7 separate regions of the Homo sapiens genome follow, and all the other regions are linked to region 4. Evidence: promoter capture Hi-C in 16 types of primary human blood cells and fetal thymus (Javierre and others, 2016). All regions are on one chromosome and are shown on one strand. The core of a region is centred on a gene start or on the middle of the fragment in contact, and the rest is flanking DNA. Distances in the headings are between cores, read along the strand shown.

Evidence for each region. The method cuts DNA at HindIII sites, captures the fragments that hold promoters and counts their contacts. A CHiCAGO score of 5 or more calls a contact.
Region 1: a fragment that was not itself captured here is called in contact with the fragment with the promoter of KCMF1 in region 4 in 2 of 17 cell types (total CD4 T cells and naive CD8 T cells); the score reaches 7.3 in total CD4 T cells.
Region 2: a contact is called between a fragment that was not itself captured here and the fragment with the promoter of KCMF1 in region 4, in 9 of 17 cell types (naive CD8 T cells, total B cells, naive B cells and 6 more). The highest score is 12.2, in naive CD8 T cells.
Region 3: a fragment that was not itself captured here is called in contact with the fragment with the promoter of KCMF1 in region 4 in 6 of 17 cell types (M2 macrophages, fetal thymus, M0 macrophages and 3 more); the score reaches 6.8 in M2 macrophages.
Region 5: a fragment that was not itself captured here is called in contact with the fragment with the promoter of KCMF1 in region 4 in 5 of 17 cell types (naive CD8 T cells, total CD8 T cells, non-activated CD4 T cells and 2 more); the score reaches 8.0 in naive CD8 T cells.
Region 6: a contact is called between a fragment that was not itself captured here and the fragment with the promoter of KCMF1 in region 4, in 1 of 17 cell types (total CD4 T cells). The highest score is 5.3, in total CD4 T cells.
Region 7: a contact is called between the fragment with the promoter of DNAH6 here and the fragment with the promoter of KCMF1 in region 4, in 9 of 17 cell types (naive CD8 T cells, non-activated CD4 T cells, total CD4 T cells and 6 more). The highest score is 19.6, in naive CD8 T cells.

What each region holds. Positions count from the first base shown.
Region 1 is chr2:84,535,357-84,538,276 of GRCh38, reverse strand. The region is part of intron 4 of DNAH6 (dynein axonemal heavy chain 6); the gene reads right to left. Among named protein-coding and RNA genes, the nearest start is that of DNAH6, 20 kb to the right of the region's middle. The HindIII fragment of the contact is 3,953 bases long and covers 1-2,920 here.
Region 2 is chr2:84,497,489-84,500,664 of GRCh38, reverse strand. It overlaps a transcript of DNAH6 not described here. Among named protein-coding and RNA genes, the nearest start is that of DNAH6, 17 kb to the left of the region's middle. The HindIII fragment of the contact is 1,553 bases long and covers 647-2,199 here.
Region 3 is chr2:85,324,851-85,327,908 of GRCh38, reverse strand. TGOLN2 (trans-golgi network protein 2) reads left to right here. Exons shown (of 4, transcript NM_006464.4): 2 at 224-1,401; 3 at 2,911-2,994. Among named protein-coding and RNA genes, the nearest start is that of TGOLN2, 1.6 kb to the left of the region's middle. RefSeq lists enhancers at 728-907, 1,148-1,317. The HindIII fragment of the contact is 413 bases long and covers 1,044-1,456 here.
Region 4 is chr2:84,969,845-84,972,782 of GRCh38, reverse strand. KCMF1 (potassium channel modulatory factor 1) reads right to left here and starts at 1,622. Exons shown (of 7, transcript NM_020122.5): 1 at 1,316-1,622. The coding sequence starts at 1,331. RefSeq lists silencers at 748-1,837, 1,868-2,117 and an enhancer at 2,616-2,695. The HindIII fragment of the contact is 10,310 bases long and covers 1-2,938 here.
Region 5 is chr2:84,476,116-84,479,128 of GRCh38, reverse strand. It overlaps a transcript of DNAH6 not described here. Among named protein-coding and RNA genes, the nearest start is that of SUCLG1, 18 kb to the right of the region's middle. The HindIII fragment of the contact is 428 bases long and covers 1,287-1,714 here.
Region 6 is chr2:84,624,238-84,627,258 of GRCh38, reverse strand. DNAH6 (dynein axonemal heavy chain 6) reads right to left here. Exons shown (of 77, transcript NM_001370.2): 27 at 2,869-2,994; 28 at 2,639-2,794; 29 at 2,196-2,357. Among named protein-coding and RNA genes, the nearest start is that of DNAH6, 110 kb to the right of the region's middle. The HindIII fragment of the contact is 1,153 bases long and covers 722-1,874 here.
Region 7 is chr2:84,514,934-84,518,158 of GRCh38, reverse strand. It overlaps DNAH6 (dynein axonemal heavy chain 6), which reads right to left and starts at 1,661. Exons shown (of 77, transcript NM_001370.2): 1 at 1,576-1,661; 2 at 108-340. The coding sequence starts at 332. The HindIII fragment of the contact is 7,595 bases long and covers 1-3,225 here.

The sequences.
Region 1 (2,920 bases), core at 251-2,750, 430 kb after region 4:
ATGGGATGTTTATGAGGAAGAAAGAAGATTAATGTACAGAAAGCACTTGGCACAATGCCTAACACAGTGTGTGTGACACAAATGCAGGAGTAGTTGTCATTATGAGGATGAGTATATTAAGTGGCGTGCATGAGGACTTGGGTTCTAAAATCCAAATAATCTGAATCTCAGCTCCATGACTCACTAGCTATGTGAACTTAATTCTGTGACTTTCATCATTTGTAAAATGGGTATATCAATCCTACCTACCTTAAAGAGTTGCTGTGGAGATTAAATGAGCTAATACATATAAAACATTTAGAACAAGATTTGGCATATACTATAGTTGGTGTTAATACTATCATGTTGCAGTACTCACCCATTAACATCACAAAGACTTAGTACCCCACTATGCCTTATAAAAGCACCCACAGTTCCTTATCAGTGTGAGCAAGTTTATATTTCAATGGCCAAAACAAAAAACAGCAAAATGTGAATTTATATAATTGAAATAATGGTGAGGTGAAGGGTTACGTAGATATGAAAAACACCTACCATCTACTAGGGAGAGAACTTTTTAATATCAACAGTGGGTCCTTTTATACCAACCTGAAAAAGGAATACTTAAAAATTGCCTCACCAGGGGTCTTCTTAGATACAACTAAATGTTAAAACTCACAAGACTTTCATATACTTCTATTTGGCATCCATCTACTCAGAAAAACCCGGAACCACTTATTGCCTTCAGGGCAGCATCAGACATTACTTTCCCATTGGAGTCCTTGCAGCAGTCTAATAGCCACCTGGGAGCTATCTTCTCCCTAGGTGTCAACTCAGATGCAAAAAGATGAGATCCACATTGAGTGCATATGAAAGCCACTCTGGCCTAAAAGCCTTATTACTCACAGGAGCCAGCATCTCTTGCAATAACCCCATAAGCATAGATTTCAGCATTCCTACAGGGCACATGCTCAGAAAAAAAGAATCTGAACTATGGGAAGTCAAAAGCTATGACTCCCCATAAGGTATTTATAATTATTTCTTAGTTCCTCCTAATGCAGCTATAATTTACTAATTGATGTCATTTTTATCATAAGCAATGTTGCCTATAAACAATATTTTACGTTTTTTAGGTTATTGAGGGTACACAGCTGCAGGATTAGCCAAAGGTCAGATTCTTATGCAGGAGAAAATCATTCTACAATCCTCTAGCACAATGCTTCTCAAACTTTGAATGTTATAAAACCCATGCAATAATAACATTTTATAAGGCACACTGATATAAACTGCAGGGGCTTGGTGAAGACATTAATTACAATTTCTTTATATAATATGACAAAACACAATGCACATAATATGTGAGATTATATAATTTTTAATTTGGGACATAATTATCCCAAATTAGGGATATAATATTTGATAAAACTTCCAATTATGTCTAGCTCATAAGCAACCACAGCTGTGACCATAACTTTTTTGAAGTAGCTACATCATGTCTAATCAAGACATGATGAATGATCTGTCCAAGTTCTTGAAGTCACCACTCCTAAGAAACTTTGTAAAAGTAGCAGGCAGCAAATGGCAGAAGATGATTTATTTATTGTTTTGTCTCTGACAGATGAAAACTCCCTTTTCGACTAGTCAAAATTTGGATACCTTGTTCTCTTGAAATTATTCACCAAAGGTACCACCACTCTTTAACTCTAACAGTTGTTACTTGTCTTTCTTTGATGCAGTGTTGACATTTCTTGTAATGATTTTAGAAACAATGGTGAAGATTTCTCTCAAACACAGAAGTTATTCTATTTGACTTAATAATCTTTCTTTAGGTTCAAATCCACAGCAGCGTCTAAAAAATCATGAGAACCATTTTAAACATTACGTTTCCCAAGTTGAATTTTTGCTGTCGATTCCTAATCTTTGTCAGTAAGTGTTAATATATTTCCTGGCAGCTGCCGTAATTTTTCAGTTAAGCTATTCAGGTGGTCAAATGTCAATTAAGTAACCCAGGTGTGTAACTAAGAACTAACCTTTACTAAATCTGCAAAGTTGGATCATTTGCAAAATACTTCCCAATTCTTGATAAAACTCATCCTTTGGATTGCCAATGCACTTAACTATGAAACAACGAAAAATAGTATTTGTTCTCAGTTTTTTGTAGAAAGCTAAAAACAAATGGTTATGTGGTTGATAGCTTGGATTTTATCATGGACATCATTTTGACAATATTTTTAAATTTGTAATTCATAATTTTAGGAAACCATTTACATATGGAAGTCCCTCTGCAAATAACATATTACTTGAATACCAGTGCTATCAGAGTAAACCTTGGTTGTAACAAACATTTTTAAGAAGTATTTTCATAATACCTCATTTGCCTTGAATATTTAATCCCCAGAGAGTTCTTTTTTCTTCTTCCTAAACAAAGTTCTTCCAGACATTTCACCTCAGAGACTCTAAATAGTGCTGTTGTCTAGCAGTTACTAATGTCTACAGATTCATCAATATGCAATTAAATATTGCAATAAAACTTTAATAATGTCTTGGATTATGATCATCTATATCATCTAATATGTTGGTCTACTAATGATGTTACTGATTTTTTTTTTTTTTTGCTTTTCTGGTTCCAAGTAGTATAAAAAACTTCCACACAAGCTGGTAAAATCACAATTCTACAATAGTGATTCATTCTGATGTTAGATATTATGTGTTCTTGCACTCCTAGCTTCTTGAGCTTCTTTATCTGATACTAATCTAAAAACAGAAATTTGTTTCATATTTTGTTCTTGTAATGCTTTTAAAAGCTCAAACCCTTTTCTGGGTGGGGTGGATATCTCTGAAAAGGTGTTGAAATAACTTGTTTGACACCACTGGTTAATTTGATAACATTTTTATACAAATAAGATATTTAGGCAAAAGGACAGGTCTATTACTGTAGTTT
Region 2 (3,176 bases), core at 174-2,673, 470 kb after region 4:
GTTCATGGATTGGAAGAATCAATATTGTTAAAATATCTATACTACCTAAAGTAAGCTACAGTTTCAATGGAATCCCTATCAAATTATCAATGACATTCTTCACAGAAATAGAAAAGACAATCCTAAAATTTATCTGGAACCATAAAAAGACCCAGAGTAGCCAAAGCTATCCTGAGCAAAAAGAGCAAAACTTGAGGAATCACATTACCTGACTTCAGTTTATACTACAGAGCTATAGTAACCATAACAGCATGGTACTGGCATAAAAACAAACACATAGACGATGGAACAGAATAGAGAACCCAGAAACAAATCCACACACCTATAGTGAACTCATTTTGGACAAAGATGCCAAGAACATACACTGGGGAAAGACAATCTCTTCAATAAATGATGCTGGAAAAACTGGATATTCATATGCAGAATAATGAGACTAGACCCCCATCTCTCACCATATACAAAAATCAAATAAAAATGGATTAGAGAGCTACATCTAAGACTTCAGACTATGAAACTGCTATGAGAAAGCATTGGGGAAAATCTCCAGGACATTGGTCTCGGAAAAAACATTTCTTGAGCAATACCCCACAAGCGCAGGCAACCAAAGCAAACATGGACAAATGGGATCACATCAAGTTAAAAAGCTTCTGCACAGCAAAGGGTACGATAACAAAGTGAAGAGACAACTCACAGAATGGTTGCAAACTACCCATTTGACAAGATTACTAACCGGAATATATAAGGAACTAAAACAACTCTATTGGAAAAAAAAAAAAACTAATAACCTGATCAAAAAAATGGGCAAAAGGTTTGAATAGACATTTCTCAAAAGAAGATGCACAAATGTCAAACAGGCATATGAAAAGGTGTTCCACATCCTTGATCATCAATGTAAATCAAAACTACTATGAGATGTCATTTCACCCCAGTGAAAATGGCTTATATCCCAAAGATAGGCAATAACAAACTCTGGGGGATGTGGAGAAAAGGGAACCCTTGTACAGTGATGGCGGGAATCCAAATTAGTACAACCACTATGGAGAACTGTTTGGAGGTTCCTCAAAAAACTAAAAATTGAGCTAACATATGCTCCAGCAATCCCACTGCTGGATATATCCAAAAGAAAGGAAATCAGTATATTGAAGAGATATCTGTACTCCTATGTTTGTTCCAGCACTGTTTACAATAGATAAGATGTGGAAGCAACCTAAGTGTCCATCAACAGATGAATGGATAAAGAAAATGTGGTATGCATACACAATGGAGTACTATTTAGCCATAAAAAGAATGAGATCCAGTCATTTGCAACAACATGGGTAGAACTGAAATCATTATGTTAAGTGAAATAAGCCAGGCACAGAAAGACAAACATTGCATGTTCTCACTTATTTATGGGATCTGAAAATCAAAACAATTGAACTCATGGATACACAGAGTAGAAGGATGGTTACCAGAGACTGGGAAGGGTAGTGGGGGGTTTGTGGGGAGGTGGGGATGGTTAATGGGTACCAAAAAATAGAAAGAATGAATAAGACCCACTATTTGATAGCACAACAGGGTGACTATAATCAGTAATAACTTAATTGTACATTTTAAAATAATTTGTAGAGTGTAAATTGGATTGTTTGCAAATGCTTGAGGGGATGGATACTCCATTCTCCATGAAGTGCTTATTCCCATTGCATCCCTGTGTCAAAACATCTCATGTACCCCATAAATATAAGTACCTACAATGCACCCACAACATTAAAAAAATTTAAAAACAGCAAATGGATGTGTGCCTCTCTTTGGTGACAATTGGGAAGATGAAAGATAAGAGACTTTACCATTTGACAGCTAACCCAGTCAGTAAGGAAAAACCTAAGGGACAGTGAGGGGTGACAGCCACCAAATAAGAGGAATGTGAACCCCATGTCTGAGGCTGTGGTGCTATTTAAAAAAAAAAAAGTAGCACATGAATAGCAGGGCAGGTGCTGAGATGGGACTCTGGGTCTGAGCAGTACAAAATGCAGTGTGCTCTTGCTTATTTTTGCTGCTTTTGAATTCTGCTCACTGTCACTTTAGAAGCAGGAGGCCTTTGGCTTGAATCTGGGTGTTTTCCACAACCTCACTAAATTACTCAGTTTTAAAAGAAACCCAACTTCTCAAATTTTTTTTTTTTTACTTGAGCAGGTTTCTATTCTAAAAACAAAAAAAGCTTTAGATTTAGAATTTTTTGATGAAGCAAATGTAAAATGATTCAAACAAATACTAGGGCTTTATGCACACCAAGAAGCCTTTTTGAGCCTGCTCTGAATAAGCAATACATCAGGGCCAGGTGCTCTGAAGAGTAAGGCTGAGAGTCTAAAGACAGGGTGATGTCTAGACATGCTGCCAAAAAAGTGAGTTTGAGAACTCTATTAGTGTCATAACTGGTGTGACCTAGCATGAGACTCCTTGGTCCCTTAGCCTACAGATTCATGGAAGAGGGATTGGGAAAATATCCCAGCTGTAGTATCTAGTCTCTGCAAGACCTTTGGGAAGTACAGAATGAAGCACAGAGATTCAGGACAAGTTGTTTGGTTTTCTGCAGTACCTGATTGGTGGCCCTATGGAAGTTTAGGTACAGAAACCTATCTTGTCTGGAAGGACCTTGCTGTACATAGTGTACATGGCCCAGAGCTCATGGTGGAGAACGGAAGGGCTGGGAAGGGCCAAGACCTCTTCTAGGGATGTGGGCAATATGCCAAAGGGTAGGGACAAGCTGAGATCTGGAGGCCATGTTGCTTTTCAGGGATCACTTTTGGGTCTGTGGCTGCAATTCTAATGCCATCTATTGCCAGTTTGCCCAGATGCCTTAATACTCTTACCTGGTTCCTTTCTGCTTATTTTCATCCTAATGTTAGGCCTTTGGTTATTCAATAATGATTTTGTTGCTAAATTACAGTATGCCTACTCATAAAAATATGTTATCATACTAATGTTCTGAGCTTATAAAAATCCAATTTGCCAACTTGTTTTTACTGTTTTAAATACACCCTAGCAATAGCCTATGACAGAGAATCCTACGGCAGTTCAATGGCTTAAAATTCTGGGTTGGTAATCCTATTTCACAGCTAAGATTCAGAGAGGTAAAGTTACTCTTCCAAGGCTACACAGTCAGTAAATTGCCAGTAAAGGACATAGTCACCATATGA
Region 3 (3,058 bases), core at 1-2,500, 360 kb before region 4:
CTCCATCCCGCATCCCACTCTTGCCCCCAGATCCCCCATTCTCACCTGGGCAGGTCACCTCTAGGCTCGCTTCTTCCCTACCCGACCCACCTCTCCGCTCGCCATCGTCTCCCGCCCCACCCCCCAATCCCCATTCCCCCGCTGCTCCCGATCTCTTCCAGTTCTGAGGAGTTCCTTCTTCCCGCCTGCCCTTCTCCGGTGCTAACTCGTTTTTCTATTTCAGGAGCCGTGCCGCTCTTGGCCACCGAAAGCGTCAAGCAAGAAGAAGCTGGAGTACGGCCTTCTGCAGGAAACGTCTCCACCCACCCCAGCTTGAGCCAACGGCCTGGAGGCTCTACCAAGTCGCATCCGGAGCCGCAGACTCCAAAAGACAGCCCTAGCAAGTCGAGTGCGGAGGCGCAGACCCCAGAAGACACCCCCAACAAGTCGGGTGCGGAGGCAAAGACCCAAAAAGACAGCTCCAACAAGTCGGGTGCGGAGGCAAAGACCCAAAAAGGCAGCACTAGCAAGTCGGGTTCGGAGGCGCAGACCACAAAAGACAGCACTAGTAAGTCGCATCCGGAGCTGCAGACTCCAAAAGACAGCACTGGCAAATCGGGTGCGGAGGCGCAGACCCCAGAAGACAGCCCCAACAGGTCGGGTGCGGAGGCAAAGACCCAAAAAGACAGCCCTAGCAAGTCAGGTTCGGAGGCGCAGACCACAAAAGATGTCCCTAATAAGTCGGGTGCGGACGGCCAGACCCCAAAAGACGGCTCCAGCAAGTCGGGTGCGGAGGATCAGACCCCAAAAGACGTCCCTAACAAGTCGGGTGCGGAGAAGCAGACTCCAAAAGACGGCTCTAACAAGTCCGGTGCAGAGGAGCAGGGCCCAATAGACGGGCCCAGCAAGTCGGGTGCGGAGGAGCAGACCTCAAAAGACAGCCCTAACAAGGTGGTTCCAGAGCAGCCTTCCCGGAAAGACCATTCCAAGCCCATCTCCAACCCTTCTGATAACAAGGAGCTCCCCAAGGCTGACACAAACCAGCTTGCTGACAAAGGGAAGCTTTCTCCTCATGCTTTCAAAACCGAATCTGGGGAGGAAACTGACCTCATTTCTCCCCCGCAGGAGGAAGTTAAGTCTTCAGAGCCTACTGAGGATGTGGAGCCCAAAGAGGCTGAAGATGATGATACAGGACCCGAGGAGGGCTCACCGCCCAAAGAAGAGAAAGAAAAGATGTCCGGTTCTGCCTCCAGTGAGAACCGTGAAGGGACACTTTCGGATTCCACGGGTAGCGAGAAGGATGACCTTTATCCGAACGGTTCTGGAAATGGCAGCGCGGAGAGCAGCCACTTCTTTGCATATCTGGTGACTGCAGCCATTCTTGTGGCTGTCCTCTATATCGCTCATCACAACAAGCGGAAGGTAAGTCGACAGCGGCCTTCCGGAGGGGAGTGGGGTTTCCAGCACCCTGGAAGCTTGGGTGTGGGTGGGTATCCCGTCACTAGATGCCCGTGAGCACTGGGGACTTTAAAACAAACTTCAGTTTTTTCCTCAGGCCCTATTAGGCCTCTTTACTCTTGTTTTGTTAATCGTGTTTTCATCCTGTCACCTGTTTACTCTGAGTGTCCTCTGCTACTGCATTAGGAGCCAAGTTAGGACATTATTAGGATCTGACCTGACTTGGAATCTCCTCCCATAACTTTGCACTTAGGTCCTTCACAGCCTCAGAGGACCTGAGTACTTGACAGTTAAAGCACGTACCTTCCATCCTATTTCCCTTCTTGAGACGATATGTCATTTCTAGCTTCCTTTCCCAACATTCTCTCTTCCATCAGCAGTGGCACAAAGAATGGTTTCAATTACTGCGTCTTCGATACCAGGACCAAAGAGCCCAGGGACTTCTGCAATTAATAATAATTAGAAGAAAGCCCAGAAATTGCACAGACACGTACACCTGTTACTTTTTCATCAGGGTTTGGTCTGTTTATTAGCAACCACTCTAATGACAAAATGATTGCATTTCATATTGAGCCCCCAACATTTAGAAGCTAGTTTCTGTAACCTGCTTAAAATTGGAGAGTCCAATTCTGGCCATAAGGCCTATGGCTATAAAGAATAAAGGGGAAGACCTTTAGTAAAAATGTGCATTCCTGGCCCGGTGCAGTGGCTCCTGCCTCTAATCCCAGCACTTTGGGAGGCCGAGGCAGGAGGATCGCTTGAGCCCAGGAGTCCGAGACCAGCCTGGCCAACATAGCAAGACCTCGTCTCTACATATAATAAAAAAATTAGCCAGATGTGGTGGTGGACGTGTGTGGTCCCAGCTACTCAGGAGGCTGAAGTGGGAGGATGGCTTGACTGTGGGAGGTCGAGGCTTCAGTGAGCCATGATCACGCCATTGCACTCCAGCCCGGGTGACAGAGTGAGACCTTGCCTCTAAGAAAAAAAAAAAGTGTATTTCTTATTCTATGTCCAAGTGTCCATTATGCAGGGTAACCTTAGTCATGAAATGAGATTGATAAAGAATGTAGTTGATGTAGCATCGTGGGGTGAAAAAGTACATTTGTAGATAGGAAATTCTGATTATGACTTTTTTTAAAGGAATGTCCTATATCCTAGATATCTCTAGGAAGGAGTTGATAGATCTTTGACTGTGTACCTTTGAATAAATCAAACAGACTTCCTCCCACACGCTAGAGCTCAGACAGCCTTCTATTTGTTATTTCCTATTAAGCAATACAAAGGATTCTGATGTAATTAGGCTCTGTCTTTCTTAAAATGGTTATAGTTTAAATAGACCTCTGTGAGTGTACTGCTCTTTCTACAGTCAGGGTCATTAACAAATATGCTACCAGGTGACTGCCTCTGAGTTCAGAGACTGAACTATGTCATTACAGAGCCACCTGTTAATCATTTTCTTTTTCCTTTCCTCAGATCATTGCTTTTGTCCTGGAAGGAAAAAGATCTAAAGTCACCCGGCGGCCAAAGGCCAGTGACTACCAACGTTTGGACCAGAAGGTAAGGAAGGAGGAGCCAGGTCCATGGGAGGGATAGGAGGGATAGGCAACGTCAGATGGACCCA
Region 4 (2,938 bases), core at 373-2,872:
TGTTGAGTCAATTTCAACGTCGCAATTAGTAATGCGAATTTTGAAACTTGTTCTAAATACAATTTTAATCAATCTGAGTTTTTCAGCCTTGAAATTCTAAGGTCCGTATTTCCCAAAGAATATCCTTCCCATAGTGCTAAGCACACACTAAACTGACTCACTAAACTTTCTCCACTCCTACATCACCTATACAGGATTTTAAAATCCGGAGTACACAAACTTTCAAGCCACTTCTACAATCTTGTATTAACCTTAGCAGGACAAACTTTTCGCCAAGACTCTTAACACTTTTTATCCAAAAACCTGTAGTAGTGAAACAAAGAAAACACAACCCCCTCCTCCTTTTCTAAACCATATGGCAATAAATTAAAGTTAACTTATTTCTTACCAGCTCAAAGCCTATACATCGACCCTAAACATTTGTCTCTTTGTGCCCTGGGACTGGGCTTAGAGCTGTCTGCTTATTTGCAACTGTACTCCAATCGTGTTTTAAAATGGCAAAACAAGGTCCAAAACGACCCCCGACCATGAACAGACCTCACCATCGTCATTTTCCAAAACCTGGTCTGGTAGGCAGCACATGCCGGCGAGGGCACCAGGGCCGCGGGGAGCGAGCCCTGCTCCGCCTGGGTGACTGAGCAGGGAGTTTGCTTGCTGCGGCGGGGTCGGATCCACCCCGGGAACTTGGTTACCCGAGCCCAGGGACGCGCCGAGGCCTAGCCGCGAGGCCGGGGCGGGCTCCAGGCGGCGAGGGCTTCCCGTCCCTTGGCCGCAGAGCCTTCCCGCCAGCCCCGCGGTCGCCCGCAGGCGGGGACACTCGCCGTCGTCTCCCGGCGACCGGACGCGCCTGCCGGGTCCCGGGCCGGCTCTTTTGCCTCCTGCTGCCGCCCGCGGCCCGGCTCTGCGACCACACCGGGCTCTTCCGGGGCGGCGGGAGCGCTAGGCCGCGCTGGGGCCCGCGGCTCCTGAACCGGCCGGGCGGGCCTTGGCGTCCGGTATCAGTCCCGAAGGCCGAGCTCCCGCCGGTAACGGGCCCCGCCGCCTCCCCTCCCCCTCCGCCCCATGACAGTGCAAACCCTCCGGCCGCCCGGGCCGCCCCGCCTCCAGCACCAGGCCCAGCTAAGGGCCGCGGCCGTGGCGGCAGCGGCGCCGCGGCTCTCCGCCCTCGCTCGCTCGCTCCCGGGTCCAGCGCCTCGGGCCCGGCTCGGGCTCGGCCAAAGTCTCCGCCGCTTCCCGGCCGCCCTCCGCCGCGCCCGGCCCGGGCGGGGTAGGCCGAGGCCCGGGAGGTGCGGGTGGGGGCGGGGGCTCCTCTCACCTTCATGTCGGGACATCCTAGTTCAGACGGTGGCGGCGCGGCCCCTCCCGGGCTCCGGCTGCAGTGTCCCCCGCGGGGTCCCGGCGCTGCCCGCGCCGGCCGGCCGACTCCCACTCGACTCCCGGGCTCGGCCGCGGGGGCGGGGTGGGCAGGGGAGCGCTCCCGCGGCGGCGGCGGCGGCGGCGGCGGGGAGGCGGCGCGGGGCGGGAATGGGGCCGGGCCTGGTCGGGGCTGAGCTCCTCCAGGAGGCGGGTCCGACGCCGCAGCTCCGCCGGCGCCCGCCGTGACTCCGGTCACTCTCGGGCCTGCCGGCTCCCGGCAGCGGCGCGGCGCTCCGCAAATCCCGCTCCTCCCCTCCCCCGGCCCACCCCCCGCCCCTCTCCCCCGGCTCCCGGCCGCCGCCTCCTCCTCCTCCTCTTCCTCCTCCTCCGCCTCCTTCCGCCGCCCGCACGCCAGCCCCGCCTCTCGCTGCCCTCGCCGGGCCCAGCCGCCCGGAGGCCCCGCGGCCGGCGGTCGCGACGGGGGCGACGCGGCGACGGCGGCTCGGGGCGCGGCGCTTGCCCGCGCTAGCCAGCAGGCCGCGATCGGGCGCCCGTGCCCAGCCTCGGCCTGGCCGCCGCCGCCGCCGCCGCGCCGCGCGTAGGGAGGAAGAGGAAATGCCCGGCGCCGGCTCCCGCTGCTCACCGGCGCGGCCCGAGGGGCGCCCGCCCGCCACGCCGCCCCTAGCCCCGCCTGGGGCGGGCCTAGGCCGGGCTATAGGGGCCAGGGCCTTGGGCTGCGCCGGCCGCGGGAGGTGGGTGCTTCTCGGCGGCGAGCTGCGACTCGGAGAGACTCCTGTCCGCAGGTGCATGGCTTCCGGGCGGGCCTCGGGCAGCGAGCTCCAGCCCCACTGAGAGGCCGCGGACCGCCTGGGGACTTGTGTTTGTGTGTATTTTAAGCCAACAGCCCAGAAAGGGAAGGCGACTGGCCCCCGGTCTTCGCCAGTGTTTCCCGGCCGGGTTACTGGTGGTCAGGAGGGAAGCCAGGAGGCTGCCGGGCTCCGAGGCCGATTCCTTGCGAACCATCTCCGTTAAAGACTCCGCGCCGGGCAGCCCGGGAGTCCGGCGGTACCCGCGCAAACTTTGTCCCAGCGCCTTGGCTCACCGTGAATGCCCTGCCTTGAAAATTTGGAGTTTTTTGTTTCCTGAAAGTGGTCTGCTTTTCCGATTTTATCTGTGTTTTCCATTTTTACCTTCTTATTGTCAATTTGTTTTCAGGCATTATTAATTCAACAAATCTTTGTACTGCCCCTTACCACGTGTCGATGGTTCCGTGGTTTGGTGGAAATAGATCGCGCTTTGAAGTCAAGACGGATCGGCCATGGAATTTTGGCTCTGAGATCCTCTGTGTAACCGTGGATGAGCTACAAGGCCTGCTGAGCCTCCATTTGTCTGGTTTTTGTGGTTGTTTTAATTTATCTTTTTCCATTTGAAGTTGTGGGTTTTGCATAAAATTGAACTGTTACCAGGCTAAGTCAACTGAAATTGGAATCTGGGGTACTGCTTGCTTTGAGGTTACTCTTATACTGTCCACCATTTGCTGGCTGTGTGATCTCTAAACCTCTCTGTGCCCTGACTTTTCTAT
Region 5 (3,013 bases), core at 251-2,750, 490 kb after region 4:
GAGACTACGGTTGGACATCAGAGAGAAGCAGCTTGACTTCAGAGGGACAGCTTGATGGCGTAGCATCAGAGAGGAGTCCAGCTGGGGACAGCTGATAGTGTAGCATCAGAGAGGAGTCCAGCTGGGGACAGCTGATAGTGTAGCATCAGAGAGGAGTCCAACTGGGGACAGCTGGACTCCAGGGGAAGGTTACCTTCCTGCTCCATCTGCTTTTCAGCTCCCCTTCCTGCTGGGAGCCACTTTCAACAGCAGTAAAATTCCCCTCATTTACCATCTTCAATTCATTCATGTGACCTCCTTCCTCCTGGATACTGGGCAGGAACTCAGGTGGTCTGAGCATCTTGGCCCAATTCAGGGAAATTCTAAGGGTTTTGGCCAAGATTGTTGTTGGGCCTATAACAAACAGCTGGACCTCTCCCACTGCCCAGTCTTGCTCTCTTCGCTTCCTTTCAACATGCTTGGTCCCCGGGGTACTCTTGCACACAGGGTATTCAACTTTGGCTTTTCAGGGGGCCAAATCTGCAATAGGGCTCAAATATGAGGAAAGAAAACTATATTTGGAATCCATTTCTTCTGGAGGAGAGGTCAAAGTTCTTGACATTCCTATAAGGTCCAATGCAGATGGAACCTCCCCTTCAGAGGTGCTGAGTGGATCAAGCATTCAACAAACTGTCACTGGATTCCAAGAGGGCCCTGTAGGTGCATTTCAGAAAGTTCCTTGTCCTCATTTTTTGGGAAAGGCAACCTCCCAACAAGCAGTGCCACTCTCTGTCAGAGGAGAAGGAAAGAATCTGCCTCTGCTCAAATCGCCCAGTGGTATTAGCTGGTTCTTTCTTAGAATTGTGCTGTGTGATTCTGTCTCTCTTGGAGGCTGCACTTCAGATGAAAATAATCCATGGCCCTCCTGATTCATCTTTCCTCATAGTTCTCCTAGGAGGAAGTGTTAAGTGTTTCTGATTTGTGTTGTACCATCTTCCCTAAATAAGGTGAAGGATACAAGCTCCCTAATCCCTCTGCTGGTTTTATGAAGGGATTAGTAGTACCTACAGTGGGGCCTGAGGGCTTAAGCTGGCTCATCAGCCCCGGAAGCCTGTCTCTCTTGGTTACACTACATTTCTCTTCAAGTGTACATACAAGTACACTGGGGACAAAGCAGCTGTTTTTCCTTTAGAAGGCAGATTTTCTTTTTCCAGAAAGAAGTTGTCAGAACTGGGCATAGAGAAGGTTCTTTTTGTTCCATTTCCATGTGGCAGAGTCAGATTGCCTGGGTGAATTCATACAAAGCTTTAGCACATCCCGATTCTAGAGGTAAGATACTTTGTAATACTAGCAAATGCTTTTCCTTCCCATATTACCTTCTATTCTTTCACTCTCTCCTCACAAATATTCAGCCCCCTTTCCCCAGTCAATTTCTGTTTGGCTTTCTTGGTCCATTGCTTCAGGAAGGGAATGTGTAACTTAAAGACCTCAGGAAAGAAATAACTTAGATTTAGGACAAAAATGTGAGTCAATGTGTCCATGATCAGTAAAGGATCCTCGGGTTAGGGAAGAAGGGAAACCATGAGAGCTTAGGTGCTATCCCCCCATCCCCACTACCCCAGCATGTACTTGAAAGGAGGTGGGTAGTCAAAAGAATTACCAGACAGGTTTGAGGGGTCTGTCAGAGGCATGTGAACCAGAGAAACGCCATCTTAAATAGTATTGGGAAAAAGCTTAGTGTTGGGAAAAAAGCTGAGGCAGGGCTTGCATGTCTGACATAATGTCCTCTGGAATGTGTCTAGACTTGCTGGCTCCTTGCTTCTAGCCCTCCTAGGCTCCTAGATTGATTGTATTCCCATTATCTCAAGTAGCAGAACATGTTCCATATAAATGCTAAACCATCACAGCTGTAGATCATGAGCCTGCCCTTTTGACCCCCACATTCTCACCACCTGTTTCTTTGTTGGATTACCAATAAATAGCATGGGCTCCCAGAGCTCAGGCCTTTGCAGCCTCCACAATTGCAATGGCCCCCTGGTCCCACTTTCTCTCTCAAACTCTTTTTCTCAATCCTTTGACTCTGCTGGACTTTGTTGCCCCCACCTGCCCCCAACATTCCTGGCTGCCCAACGTGGGGCGACAAAGACCCCAGTGAAGGAACGCTAGAGCATGTGAAAGTGGAGGATGCGCCGTCAAAGGACACCTGAGGACATTTAAAAGAAGCTCGGTGGGAAAGCTGAGTGCTTGGAAGAACCAGGGTAACAACAGGACAAAGTGAAAGCACACATTCTGCTTATTTAAATTTCCTAAGGCAATTATTACAAAGAGGGGGAGTGAAAGTTAGTATTCAGAATTTGTTAACACTCTGTAGTGCAGTAAAGCAGTTTTGCCCATGGTTCACGGAACGAGGGACTATGGAGTTGGATGAATGGGAGAGAATTGGCAGAGATTTTAAAAACGCGTATAAGGATGGAGCAAAAATTCCAGTCTCAGTTTGGTCAATGTGGGCGCTAATAAAAGCAGCTCTTGAGCCATTTCAAACAGATGATGAGGCAGATTCAGATGAAGAAGAGGAGGATGAGTGTAAAAATCTAACTTCAGATTCTGAATGTGAGGAACAGAAAATGGAGAAAATTAAAGAAAAGAAAGGGAAACTGAAAAAAGTATGTTTTACTAGCCCGTCGGTTCCAACTGCTGAATTAAGTGAAAGGCCACCTCCTTTCTCTCCCCTTAATGGGCCAGAAGATGAATTAGCTACAAAACTTACTGCTCCTGTAGTTGCAACATTAAAACCTGGAGCAATTGGTGGTGCTATACAAAATTCTATTCAAAAGGCTAGAGCCGAGGGAGACCTTGAAGCATGGCAATTTCCCGTAACTATAGTCCAGCAGGGAGGAAAGAATATAGCTAATTGGACCACCTTTCCTTTTAAGCTGTTAAAGGAATTCAAGCCATTAGTCAATATGGGCCAAATTCTCCTTTTGTGCAAACTTAATTGAAAAGTTTCTCTTGATAATAGATTAATACCATATGA
Region 6 (3,021 bases), core at 49-2,548, 350 kb after region 4:
TAGAACAGTGGTCCTGAAATCTGAGTGTGCATCAGAATCACCTGGAAGTTTGTTTCAAAAAAGCCTCTTGTTGCTGTGCTCTAGCTCCAAAGTTCTGATTAAGTAGGTCTGAGGTGGGGCTTTATAATTTGCATTTCCAACAAGTTGTCAGGTGATGCTAATGCTGTTGGTTCAGGGTTCACGCTCTCAGAACCACGGTCTCAAAGTGGACCAGTATCGATTTGCACCACCTTGGCGGATGTCAGAAATGCATAATTTCAGGCCCCACCCCAGACCTGCAGATCATAATATGTAGTTTAATAAATATCTCCGGGTGATTCACAGCACACAGTAGTTAGAAAAATAATGGTTCTGGCCGGGCGCGGTGGCTCACGCCTGTAATCCCAGCACTTTGGGAGGCCAAAGCGGGTGGATCACGAGGTCAGGAGTTCAAGACCAGACCAGCCTGGCCAAGATGGTGAAACCCCCATCTCCGCTAAAAATACAAAAATTAGCCGGGTGTGGTGGTGGGCACCTGTAATCCCAGCTATTCAGGAGGCTGAGGCAGAGAACTGCTTGAACCCGGGAGGCAGAGGTTGCAGTGAGCCGAGATTGAGCCACTGCATCCTGGGCAATAGAGCGAGACTCCGTCTCAAAATAAAAAATAAAAAAAGAGAAAAATAATGGTTCTAGAAGAAGTAAAGAAAGTGGAAAGAAAACACAGTCCACTAACCCTGAAGCTTAGGATGTTTACTTTGAATGGCAGGGGTTTGTGATATATGTATTGATCTTTCTCTGTGGGGCCAATTATTCTATTAAATTCCACTATGAACAATCTTTGATATTATAAGCACTGTATAAGGGATTTACATTTTTATGTTCAGCCCCCAGACAAAGCAGTGAAGACATAATTTAGTTATAGAATAAAATACAAATTTTATAAAACTTGACATGGTAAAAGTGAGGTTGAAATAGAAAGTCCAACTTCATTAGACACACAAAGTTGTGTCTAATAAAATCCTCATCTATTTAATATGTTGGCAGATAGTGTCCAAAGTGGGTACATAAAAATATAGAAACAAATGTATGTTTTTACAGTTTAAATAGCAACCACCAGAAAAAATAAAGCCAAACAAGGATCCCTGCAAATCCATGAGTTTTTTTTTTAGGGGATCTGTGAGGCCAAAGTGTTTTCATAATAATACTAAGGTGTTATATGCCTTTTTCATTCTCACTCTCTCATGAGAGTATAGAGTACGAAAAGATGTGTATATGGTTTAAGTTTTAACATAGCAAATAACCTTTAAGAAACTAACATTTGTCAAGTTTTGGTGTAGTTCAAAGAAGAGTATAAACAATTAACTGAAAAAGTTATTTAAAAAAATTCCTCTTTTCAGAGTCCATATCTGTGTGAGGTTAGATTTTCTTCAAATGTTCAACCAAAAAAACATATCCCAACAGACTGAATGTAGAAGCAAATCAGAGAATCTGGCTGTCTTCTATTATGCCAAATATTAGCATAATAGCAATATCTTGAAAATATTAGAGATTTTCAAAAATATAAAATAGTGGGACAATGTTTTTTGTTTGGAAGTTTTGTTTTACAAAAACATGTTTAAGTTAACATATAATGGGCTTACTGTTATTTTTTTAACAAATAAATATATAAAACATATTTTACTTAATTTTTTCTAACATGGTAAATATCAACATACGTAACCCATATGAACAAAAGCTCTTTGGAAGTCTCAATAATTTTTAAGAGTGTAAAGGGGTCCCATGACCAAAAAGTTTGAGAACCACTGTATTGAAAAACCTTACCATGAATTCTCACCTCCCACATATTTCATGTTCAATACACCATTCTCTAAATTGCCAATTTCCTACTCTAAGCTTAGTCCTTGTTCTTCGGTTTCCCTGCTATTCTATCTTGTACCTCATCTCGTTTCTTTCTTCTTACTGACATGTACAGATTTTTATTTTTTTCACCATTTGACAAATCATCCCCTGGCCTTGATTCTTATCCAGACTACCCAGACCACCACGTGTTGACTCTTCTCCCTTGCTCTATTTATTCCACTTTAACCATTATTTACCCCATTTCTTTTCTCTTGCTTGTCATCACTCCATTCTTGCCTTATTTTGTTATGTCATGTTGCAAATAGAGAAAGACACATAAAACACTTAATGTTAATATTCAGATGCAAGAACTGTACCTTGTAGTCCAAACCATCTGAACAGTTAAAGACCACACACTGGATGGCAAGAGCTTTTGCCAGATCTTTGGTAGTCTCTGTTTTCCCAGTGCCAGCAGGACCAGCTGGTGCACCCCCAAGGTCAAGCTGCAAAGCTCCCATGAGGCAAAGATAGCAGCGATCCTGAAGAAAGCAATGCATTATCAATATGAAGGGAACCAACTCTGGCCACAAATTAAGGCATTTCCTCTCTATGGGGGAAGGATTATTATTTTCTATGAAAAATATAGCAATTGAAATACACCAAAAGATCCATGCACATAATTAAATAATGCAAATATTTGCTTTACAAAGATGTATTCATAATAAATTCTTTCAAGAGTTAATGTCATATGAAACTTTTCAAGACTTTTGATTGAAAAGCACTCTTGTGTCAATATTAACCCAAGTGATCAATAACTTACTGTGAGTGGAGTAATAACCAATCTTGGGCATGCACCCAAATATTCATAGCCATAAGTGTACTGAGAGAGCGCCATTCTAGCCACACAATTATCCAGGTCTATATCCCAGTAATAGCGCAGTTGTCTCTGCCAGTCAAAAGATTCAACTGTCTCCACCTATATGTGATATACATATTAGATACACTAATTTCAGAAAGAAGTATATAATTTTACTTAAATGAAACAGTTACCTTGGATTGAACAAGTTCAGTGACTATATCTCTTGCATGCACATCAATAGTAATCAATGCAGTTAGGATGTTTCTGTGTAATTTAGGAAGACTGCCTTGAACTATTGCAGCTAGGGCATTTAATCTCTACAAATAAAAAAAATTGTCATGGTG
Region 7 (3,225 bases), core at 412-2,911, 450 kb after region 4:
ATTCCTTCTTTGTCAGTTCAGAGTCTGGACATGACTTCTATCCTCCAAAGCAATTTTACAACTTCCTCTGTGGCTACAGAGGCTAAAACAATGGTTTTTGAACTTACCAAAGGCTCTAGTTTTATAGGCTGCTGTCGTTTTCTTGTCTTCTCCTGAGCTTTTGTAATGTGCCTAAACGTTAGGATTTGTGTATCAGATTCATTTTCTGTGGATGTCACATAACTCACTCTTTGTTTGGCTTTTATATTATTCAGTCTTGAAAGTGCAGAATTTTCGGCATACTCTTCAATATTTGTCAGGTCAAATTCACTATCTGTGGCCCGAAAAGTCATCCTTACTCCTGAAAAGAATAGGTGAGGAAAAAGAAAATGAAAAGTAGATCAAAAGGATTGGGGAAGGAGGCTACTGGAGAGGGACTTAAGGACTAGGAAGAGTTGAATTCGCTCACTTCCCTCAAATAAAACCCATCAAAGTTACCCCAGTCTTCCCGAACTGAGGACTTGAACCAAAGGAATAAAAAATTAGAAACTGTGCCTAGGCTTCAAGAACCCCTGTAGCTAGGGTGGAACCCAGGAATTTGCATTTCTTGCAAGTTCTTGGCGGATGCTGCTGCTGCTGCTCATCTGGAGACCACACTGGTCTAGATTTGGAAGGACAAAAGGAAATGTAATTAGTATTGAGATCAATGTTTCTCATCTCCTGCGGAACTTGTTCAAAATGCAGCTAATTCTAGTACACGCAGTCTGAAAAATACAGTATAGGTACTCAAGAAGAAACAAAGGGAAAAAAAAGAATTGAGGGCTAATTTCTTACACAGTGCTTCTGGAGCTTTAACGTGCAGGACAATCACTTGCAGAGCTTGTTAAAATGAAGGTTCTGATTCATACACTTTGAGTAGCAAGGTCCTAAAACACTAGAAATATGAGCCTTTTGTAATGGTCTTGCACTCTGCACCACCACGCACACTTTCACCCCATTAGATGAGTGGAGATACTTCGAAACACCTTCCAAAATAGGGTTAGCACAAGAGGTCTTGAATCAGGTGTCGGCAGACCTAGGTTTTATATAGATCAGTGCTGGCCAATAGAAATATGAGAGCTTTGTATGCAATTTTAATTTTCAAGCAATAGCATTTTTAAAAAAGAAATAGGTGAGATTAATTTTAATAATATGTTTTATTTACCATATACAAAACATAATCATTTGAACACACAGTATAAAAATTATAGTGATATCTTATGTTGTCTTTTGGTACCACGCCTTCAAAATCCAGTGTGCTTTTTACATATGAGCACATTGCAATTCAGACTAGCCACACGAGGTCTAAAGATTACCGTATTTAACAGCGCAGGTCCAGATTTGACCACTCAGCGTGAGATCTTGGACAAGTCTTTTGATATCGCTATTGCTCACTTTCCACCCCTCTAAAATGATGGGCGGATAGCAGACAATCACTGAAATGCCTTTCCATTGATTTTCTCTGCCTCTTTGAGCCTTTATGTTCTCCGAAAGTCAGACTTTGTTTCTGGCCCAGAAATCGGAGCCCAGGCCCGAGGGTCGGTTCCCAGGACTCACCAAGTCAAAATACAGCAACCACCGCCGAGGGTCTCCAGAGAGAGCAATGCCTGGTCGGGAGTAGAAAGTACTCGGTAGCGCGGAATGTTTCCTGTTGCTGCGTAGCAACCAGCTGGCCTCTACGGAAGCACTGCGCCACTGAGTAACACGTCGCCAGGCAACGCCTCAACCAGCCACAGCTTTCGGTCCAGGAGCGCGCCAGGCAATCGAGCCAATTAGTGTCTCCGAAACATTTCCTACTTCGCTGATTGTTGGAGAAGCCGCACAGCCTGGTTCCTCCTCTGCGCTGGGAATTGAGTACTGTGCCAGGAGGTGTAGGCAGAGCAGCCAAAGGAGGTGGTTAATTCTGTTTGCTTCGTTGCTTATCGACCACTCACACCCATCTCAACCTCTTACAGGAATTTCTTTTCTGTTTTCCTTCAAGAGGCGTAAGACTGACTTGACGTTCACTTTAATAGAAATTTATCCGAAAGAGTCGAGAATTTCAGGAGAGGAATGTGGGTTGTGTAGACAAATGAGGTCCCACTCTCCAAGGAAGCAACCACTCTGCATCCCTGCCCTACCCGCCAACCTCCTCCCGAGTGTCTTAAGGCTCAAGAAATGTGGCCTCCTCTTCCCTTAAACTCCACTGTGGCCTTCCAACTAATGTCCTTTTCCACTTGGAAGGTAACCTAGGTGTCAGGCATAGGATGAGCCCGTATTACTTGGTTCCCGTGCCCCTTCTACCAAAGCAGACCCTGGATCTTATTCTGGCGTTTAATCTCACTTAAGTTCCCAAGTGACTGTTGCTAATTTTGTATGGAGCGACCCCATCGAAGGCCAGGGCCTGTTGCTTACTCGGGATGCCTTATCCCAGTTACTGATCAGGGGAAGAAATCCTTTCACCTGTCTTGATGAATCCTTACACCACATGGAGGAGCTCTGGTTTTCAACCTTGTCTCCAAAATGACATAATCATCATTTTCTTTTGCTCTTTTCGGTTGCTCTTTGTTACCTTGATATTTGTTTCTTGCTCTATGTGAAGTTCTTTACATTATTGTACTCACAGCCTGCATCTTCTCAATCTTAACATATTCAGTTATGTATTTGATATGGTAGTATGATTCTCTAAATCACAGATAGAGCTAAAATGGAGATTACAGGTCACATAGTCCAACTCCCCTATTTGATTTGTAAGGGAACTGAAGCCCAGAGAAAGCAAGTGCTTTACTCCAGGTCAGGCAGCTAGTTGTGCCACAGACAAAACTAGAATGCAGATCTCCCAATCCCTAATGAGAAACTGGAAACAGCAAGAGAGTAAAGTCAGTTTAGAAAAAATTTTAAAAATTCTGAAAAACTTCAAATGTAGACAAAATAAAGATTAATTCCCCAGAGATGAAAAATACACACAAAACTAGTCAGCTAGTAAAATGCAATCATTGATATAAACTAATAATGGAAAAAGAAATTCAAAGCCAACTCAGTACATCGAAGCATAAAGTTATAATAACAAGCAATGTTAGACACATCCTCAGAATAGATTTCATTTCAGATGTGCAGTGAAAATTTTAATCTGTTCCCTTCAAAGTTTATGCAATGGAGACAAATCTATTGCTCCTCAATCCTAGACTCCCTTTTTTAGATTAAGGTGGATTGTACACAACTGTTACC